2 separate regions of the Homo sapiens genome follow, and region 1 is linked to region 2. The links are contacts of gene promoters, found by promoter capture Hi-C in blood cells and fetal thymus (Javierre and others, 2016). All regions are on one chromosome and are shown on one strand. The core of a region is centred on a gene start or on the middle of the fragment in contact, and the rest is flanking DNA. Distances in the headings are between cores, read along the strand shown.

The links. Contacts are between HindIII fragments. The CHiCAGO score rates a contact against its expected background, and 5 or more counts as called.
Region 1: a fragment that was not itself captured here is called in contact with the fragment with the promoter of SORBS1 in region 2 in 1 of 17 cell types (M1 macrophages); the score reaches 5.0 in M1 macrophages.

The regions. Positions count from the first base shown.
Region 1 is chr10:95,184,583-95,188,995 of GRCh38, forward strand. The region is part of intron 3 of LOC107984257 (a long non-coding RNA gene); the gene reads right to left. Among named protein-coding and RNA genes, the nearest start is that of ACSM6, 7.4 kb to the right of the region's middle. The HindIII fragment of the contact is 857 bases long and covers 1,236-2,092 here.
Region 2 is chr10:95,559,445-95,563,488 of GRCh38, forward strand. It overlaps SORBS1 (sorbin and SH3 domain containing 1), which reads right to left and starts at 1,927. Exons shown (of 33, transcript NM_001034954.3): 1 at 1,876-1,927. RefSeq lists an enhancer at 1,510-2,272 and silencers at 1,757-1,866, 1,907-2,276. The HindIII fragment of the contact is 3,213 bases long and covers 1-2,802 here.

The DNA of each region.
Region 1 (4,413 bases), core at 414-2,913, 380 kb before region 2:
TGCTGAGGCAGGAGAATTGCTTGAACCCGGGAGGCGGAGGTTGCAGTGAGCCGAGATGGTGCCACTGCACTCCTGCCTGGGCGACAGAGCAAGCCTTGTCTCAATAAATAAATAAATAGTTAGAACCTTAGGAAGGATCCAGAGGGGAACTGTCCTTAGGAAGGTGCATGCTGGGGATGAAGGAATTGGTTTTAAGACTCAGGAAGTGAGGGCAAGGGAGAGACGAGTGTTGGGGGTGCAGTGGGGTGCTAATGCAGCAGCCAAGCAGAAGACTGGAGGAAAACAGAGCCCTTCTCCTCCAACTCCAGCTGCTCCTCTGAGTCCCAGGCCACCTGCTCCTGTGTCTGCCAACCTACTGACATGTCTCCCAGCCCTGCTGGAATGCTGTTCCTCCTGATCTCTGCCCTGCCCCAGACCTTTCACTAACCCCACCACCCCCACTGTCCAGGTCCTACCACCCCACTGCCCCGACCATAGCCTGCCCCTATCCCAGATGCCTCTCCTTCCAGCCTCTTGCCCTAGGTGACACAAAGGGGACCTGGACATGCAGGTGAAGAGGGTGTTCTTCTGGGTCCTCCTGCTCAAGTATCCCGCTCATGCAGTTATGAGTGTGAGTAAATGTTGGATATGACACAGATTCTATTTCTCAAGCTGTTTCACACTGTGGTTTACCTAACAGTGTTTTTGTGGAATCATCTATGGGGATTTGGTCCTCCCTGCAGACCTCAGTGCAGATTTCTTGAGCAGCCTACAGGGGCTCTGGCCCCACCTGTCCACACCAAGTTCTGGGTCCTGCATGCCCTGCTTGGCCCAAATACAGCAAGGTTGACAGGATGGAAAGCTGAAAATGGTGACTTATAATATCGAAAAGTAAGGATTTCACGGCCCAGTGAAACAGAATGGAGAACCCAGAAATAAATCCTTGCATTTACAACCAACTCATTTTTGACCAAGGCACCAGGAACATACCTTGGGAAACAGATGGTCTCTTCAATAAATGGTACTGGGAAAATGAGACACGTGAAGAATAAAACTAGACTTCTATGCCTCATCATATATAAAAATCAAATCAAAATGAATTAAAAACTTACATGTAGGAAACTATGAAACTACTAGAAGAAAACATAGGGGAAATACTTTAGAACACTGGTCTAGGCAAAGATTTCCTGAGTAAGACCTCAAAAGCACGGGTAACGAATGCAAAAATTGATAAATAGAATTACATCAAGCTAAAAAGCTTCTTCACATCAATAAAAATAAAAATAAAGTGAAGAGACAACCCACAGAATGGGAGAAAAATTTTCCAAACTATTCATCCAACAAGGGATCACTAACAAGAATACGTAAGAACTCAAAAACAAAAATTCCAAATAATCCAATTTAAAAATGGGCAAAAGATTTCAATAGACATTTCCCAAGAGAAGATACACAAATGGCCAACAGTTATATGCAAACATGTTTAACATCACTAATCATCAGATAAATCCAAATCAAAACCACAATAAAATATAATTTAACCTCAATTAAAATGGCAATTGTCAAAAACTCAGAAAATAACAAATGCTGAAAAGGACACAGAGAAATGGGAGCGCTCAAACACTCTTCGTAGGAACATAAAATAGTTTATCCACTATGGAAAACTGCATGGAGGTTCCTCAAAGAACTAAAAATAGAACTATCATATGATTCAGCAATCCCACTGCTGGGTATATGCCTACAAGAAAGAAAATCAGTATGTCGAAGAGACATCTGCACTCCCAGTTTATTGCAGCACTATTCACAACAGCCAAAATATGAAATCAACCTAAGTATCAACGGATGAACGGATAAAGTGTGGTACATATATATGAAAAAAAAAGGATTTGTGAATATACTAAAAGCCATTGAATTGTATGCCTGAAATGGGGAAGTTGTATGCTATATGAGTTCTATTTCAATAAAGTTGTTTTTTAAAACATAAGGAATCTTATTTAATAATCATCATGGGCATTCTTGGAAGCCCTCTGCAAGATCCTGTTTCAAGTTCTGCAAGTTTGGGGTCCAACCTGTGTGAACCTTGTTTCCCTATGAGTACATTATTTATGTTTGTGAAAGCTTGACAGCTCCAAGAACACTAATACTTAATCGTTGGTTTTAGCACTAGTCTGTGTAACCAAATACCACCTGTACCCCCTATAACTTACGGAAAAAAAGTGAAATGTCTTTTGCACTCTGTTATTTCGAGTTTGTTGATTTTTAGCAACATCTGGGTCATCCCTTTTCTTCTTCTCTGGCAGGCTGCCCCTAGGGATTCCCTGTTCAGCCAGTTTGATGAGAGCCCTAAGAAACCCATCAGATACCAAAATAAATGGCTATATTCTGCTGGAATGTTTGTAGTGGGGGAATCACATATGACCAGGAGGTGAATTATTATTGTCATTTCCTTTGTGAAATGTGTCACTTGTCATCTCTTGATTTACCCAAGGCAGGGAGAGAGAAAGAGAAAAAGGGAGTTGATCAGACACTTCCCATTAAGATAAGTATTAATAAATTTCTTCTGATCACCATGGCCCAGATACCTATGGAGGGATCTGGAAAGGTCCAGTGTTCAGGAACAACCCTATCATTTAGGCAGTGTTAGGCCAATTGAATACTTCCAATCAAAAGAACCTATTCTGTTTCCTTTGAGTCTTTTAAAAGGGCAAATGTCTTGAAAACGTTTATTCTTAGAGTTTTGGGGGTTTTGTTGTTGGTTGTTGTTGTTGCTTCTATCTTGGCTGCATTTTTCATAGGTCATCTAACCTCTCTTTTCCTAGCATCTTTGAGCATTTGGATAAATTAAGCTGTCTTGCATTTCCCACCTCCACCCTTGCTCATGGCCGCATTCGCCTCTCAAAATTCCCCTGAGCCTTCTGAGGACTTTTTTTTTAACTTTTATTTTAGATACAGGGAGTACATGTGCAGGTTTGTTACATGGGTATACTGCAATTAAGTAGTGAGCATAGTACTCAGTAGGTCGTTTTTCAACCCACGCTCCTCTCCCTCCTTCCCCACTCTAGTACACTGTGTCTACTGTTCCCATGTTTATGTCAATGGATGCTCTATGTTTAGCTCCCACTTATAAGTGAGAAAGTGCGGTATTAGGTTTTTCTATTCCTGTATTAATTTGCTTAGGATTATGACTGAGACCAACTCTTATCCTTCACGCTGTTAAGTAGCTCTGATCTTCAAGATTAGCCAGAAGGAATCTGTACACTCTGCAAGTGTTTCAGTGGCACTTTGTTTATACTGCTTATGGGGCATTTGAGTTCATTGCCTTAAATTGCAGGTAATTTGTTATAAATTTGCCTCCTCTAGAAAGTCACAGGTTTTGTAAGGGAAAGAACTGGGTCTTGTCTGTTGACCTATCCTATAGGATATTTCCGTATTGGCAGCAGCTCATATTTCCATGTATTTTGTGCATCACTTGAGCAGAATTTGTCCCACTGAAATAATACCTACATGTCTTTTTAAATCAAATTAGTAATTCCTTGCTGAGGTTGATCTATATCAGTACAGTTAAACACTGGATAAGGGGTTCAACATAAAGATTACTTCCAATGTTGACAGTCTAAGATTCTGTAAAATTATTTGTGAGGGTGCAAGAAATGTGAAACTACCACATGTATAAGAATGTATAAGAATGGAGTGTACCACATGTGGTAGAATGTGTAGTACGTGGTAGAATGTATGGCACACTGTTTGACACTACACTATGTGGTATATCATAAAAATGTGACACTACCACATGTAAAGAATGCTATGACCTGTGGTCTCAAAGGTTAAAAAGGTTTATATCTCACCCTTCTTCATATATTTTTTATTTCTTTCCCTTTCCATATTCTCTTATTTAAGTTTTTTCATAGAGAAAAGTATATTTTCTCTCCGTCTCCCCTCTCATTTTCAAGCCTGATACCTTAGGAAATTTTAAATTCTCTCTTCTTAGCTTTCAAATTAATTGTTTGTGTATCTTCGCTCTGCTGTACTTTTCAGTTTCTCAGAGTTCAGACAACCACCATGAGACCTGCAGCTTTTGTGGCCCTGTTGGATCTAATCTAGGTAGGAGAGTCCACTATGGTTATCTGTGTCCAGACAGTTGCCAGATGGAACCAGAGTGACCATGACTGGGAATGCTTTCCCAAGTAGTGACAAAATGGCCTTTGTCCTTCTTGTCCATTTGATCCCCATCTTTAATCATTGTGCTCAGAGCTACTGCTCCCATTCAGAAAGTGGCTGCTCAAGGACAGCATATTTTTCCCAAAAGTACACACTTTACATGCCTTAGCAGTGAGTGCTGAAGATAAGTGTTTTAAGAGTTCAGAGAGGTTTTATATGCAAGAAACTAATGCTTGAATGTGGATCAGTATACATTATGAGTTTACTGTCTCCTAAAAT
Region 2 (4,044 bases), core at 677-3,176:
GCGGGTATCGTCCACAAGATGACAATACCCTCCCAACTCTTTACCCCACAGGGTAGACAGCAGTTCATTTCAGTTGCTAATTCCCTGCAGGGAAGTCGCCAAAGGAGTGGTCTCAGGGCCCTCCAGCTGAGAAATGTGCTCTCTGCAACCCCTGGAGAACTAACCCTTTCCTAACCATCTGCTCCAACAGTGCCTTGGGCAAAGGTGCCAACAGACCAACCCTTCCCTTCTTTCCCCTCAGGCCAAGAAAGAGACATCAGAGCTTGGTTGGCAAGGGGCTATTTAAGGCAGCATCCAGAGGGCGGGGCAGAAAACTGCTGGAGGCATCCTCCTCCTCCACCCCTCCCCCTCACAGCCCAAACACACGCCCCTCACTCTGTAGACAGCCATCTGCCTCATCGGTGTCTGAAGGCTGTAGATATGTCCATCATCTGTCTTCTGTCATTGATGCTGCTGACCCCTCTGTGTCCACCCCACTTTTAATCCAACCCTCCTCTCTTCGATCACCACCAAGATACCTTTCCAACCAAAACCACAGAATTGAATCTAAGCAGAGGAGCTCAAAACACAAGGAGAGTGAAGACAGCCAATCCATCCCCCGCCTCCACTTAAGAGGAAAAAAGGGCGCGGGGGGCTGGGCGGGGGGGGGGGTGTTGAGGGGAGAGATGGAGTCAGAGGCCTGACACGCCAGATAGGTTCCATGATGTCTCTAGATGAACCTCCCTCCTATTGACGATGAAACCAATTCCAGCAATTTCAGCAGGTCGGCCCTGTGACAACAGGGGCATCCCAACGCTCAGTGTTTAAAACAAAAATCCAAAGGCTCGCCCAGAACATGCTGGGAAAAACCGAGGACTGAACAAAACGAGCCATGCTCAGTGGGATCCCTTCTGCTTTTACGTAGCAATGTAATAGCGTAATAAATTCTTGTCTGCCTGGAGAAAGCATGCACTGGTGAATTTCAAAGCCATCTTACGACAGCGGATGCATGGGGATGCAGAATTCGACAGCACATTCCCCCATGAAGGAAACATAATGACTTCAAGCCTCTTTCCCCTCTATCTTGAATGGCGCTACCACGTATCAAGGAAGCCACATCGGAAAGCAGCGAGGTGGTAGCAGGGGATGCCCGGGGAATTCGGAGAAAGGAGTTGCTTGCTGTCCATGTCGGTGATGAGCTGCCTAGCAAGATGCTGTCAGCCACTCGGGGAGAAGAAGGGGCACGGGCGGCACGGGCAGGCGCCGTGTCCCCGGCGCATACTAGTCCCCGTTCATTCAGGCGGGTCCGGCCAACCGCGTCGTCCTTGCGCCCCTCCCGCCGCCCTCTCCAGGGGATGCTGATGAATGAACACACCTGAGATGCCTCCATCCCGCCGCTCGCTCCCTCCGCCTTCCTCTGGCTGCTGCAGAGGTGCCCCTCCTCGGTAGTTTCACTTTACAGCACAAACCCATTCGGGCTTTGATGTCTCCTCCACCCACCCAAATTGCAGCCACCCTGAGACGGGCGGACATTCTCTCCTAGCAGAGGCCATGATCGTACTACCCCACACCCACCAAAAAAGGAAATTTAAAAACCCCCAACCCTGGAAGCCCCCAGATCCTCCGCACCCTGGGGAACTTTCCTTGAAAGACTGGGGATTCGCCGAGCAGGCAGGATGGACGGTTCGGCCGCGAGGGACCACCGCTTTCCCTGTGCCCATGGGGGGATGCTCTGGGGGAGGGGGTCCCCCAAGTCCCTCCAACAGCTGGCCCTTTAAATGCGCCTCCTCCGAGCGCGGAACAAAGGCGCCGCCCGCGGGGGCCGAGCCGCGCACACCCCCGGCGCTGCCGCCGCCGAGCGGGCAAGCGCGGCCGGGCGGGCGAGCGCGGGCTTACCTTGCTGGTCGCCGGGCGGGCGGGCTGCGCGCGTCCGCCCCACTCGCACTACACGCTGCAGCTGGCCCCGCTCTGTTTTTCTGGGACTCAGCGCTGACTTCACCGACACTCCGCGGACAACCAATGGGCTGCGGTGCCCGCCCCCTCATTAGCATGCCTCTGGAACCGTCCACTCTGGCAGCGCCCGGCCAGCGGGCGGTGCCGGGGGCGGGGCCGGGCCCAGCCGTGACAGGAAGGGGCGTGTGCGCGGATGGGAGGCGAAGAAGTGTCCGGCGCCCGGCTCCTGGCATTGTGAGCCCGCCGGCCTCCGCCGGTAACGGGCGCGCGGGCCTAGTAACCCTTTCCGTCCTGGCCGGGCCGGACGCTGGCCTGGCGCGCCTTCTGGTCCTTCGGAAGGGTCGCCCACGGGGAGCTTGGAAGGAACCTTAGACGTAAAATAACAGTGATAAGTTATTTAACTCCTGGGCCTCAGTTTACCCATCTGTAAAATGGCATAATAGTCCGACTTCGTAAAATCTAGTGAAGATTAACATAGTTAACATAGGTGATGCATTTTGATCAGTTCCTGGCCGTCGTGCTACATAAACGTTTGCTGTTGTCATTCGTGTGCTCTGTACCAGCCAGTGTGCTTAATGCTTCCCGGATATTTCCTCATTTGATCCTCTTAGCCTGATAAGAGAGGAACGATTACTAATCCATATTTTTCTAGTGAGAAAACTGAAAATAATTACTATTTTTATGCAGGAAAACTGAGGTGTAGTTTAAGTGGCTTGTCCGAGGTCACACAGCAAGTGGTGCAACCAGGATTTGAACCCAGGCTCTGAGATTTCACTCATGCAACACACATATATTTAGAGGCTCTGTGGCAGTGCTGGACCCCAGTGTTAACTGCAGAGAACAAGACAGGCAAGGCCTTTTCCCTTAGGAAGCTTCCATTTTAGTGGAGACAAGTAAATAAATAAGATCCTCTACAATGTGAAAAGTAGAGTGCATACAATGCAACAAGGTCATTGCAAGTGGGGGGAAGGCACCGTGTTAGATGGGGTTCAGAGCTAACCACTGTGCTATGCCATTCTCCTGACCTCCTCTAGTCCCCCTCAGAGTTACAGAAAAGGAAACAGAGACAGGGATCAGAGTGGGGAATCTGCTGGCCCAAGGTCGCAGAGCCAGCAAGTACTGGTCTGGAACTTGCTCCCTCCATGCCCAGCTTCCCACATCCCTGAAGATAAGACACTCGCCCTTTGGGCTGAGCACAACTGATTTTTGTCAGCTGCCCTTGCAAGCATCTTCAGCCAGAGCACATTCTCAGTGAACAGGCTGTGGGTGGCAGGGTAAAGACTGGCCTTGATAACTGCACAGACTGATCGGAAACTCATCAGCAAAGATTCTTAGATGTCAGGGAACGGTGACAAGTCTTTGGTGACCACCTGGTGTCCTCTGCTGTGTATTAAAAAAAAAAAGAAGAGTCCTAGCCATCTGGAAGCTTACTCTATAAATGAGAAAACACTGGGGAACTACTCAACCTAGGGAGCCCCCAGCCCACGGCCTTCCCCTATCTGCACCTCATCCTGCAGCTTTTCAAAGAACACTTCCCCGGCTCTCCTATTTATTTACTCCACAATCTGTGTAAGACAGCTCTCTCTGGGCTATAAAGTAATAAAACAGCTAGTATTTATTGAGCACGTCTAGGCTGCTATGCACCGTACTATACTTGTGCTAAGAGCTTTACATGCGTTAACTCACATCCACCACACGACCCCAGGTGGGAATAGTGTCGTTATCCTGAGGTTATCCACAGAGGTGTATAACAAAGGGTAGAGAGACTAGTTACTTACCCAGCAAATTCAGGGCAACACCATTTTAGAATAGCCAAAAAAAAAAAAAATCAAAACAATCCAAATATCCAATTTGAGTGCATTGGTTAATAATAGTACAACCATATGACAGAATATCATATATTAATAGCTACAAAAAATGAAGAGGTTTATTGACACATAAAGATGCTCATAATAGGCTGGGAGTGGTGGCTCACGCCTGTAATCCCAGCACTCTAGGAGGCCAAGGTGGGCAGCGGTGGATCACCTGAGCTCAGGAGTTTGAGACCAGCCTGGGAAACATGGTGAAACCCCATCTCTACTAAAGAATCCAAAATTAGCTGGGCATGGTGGC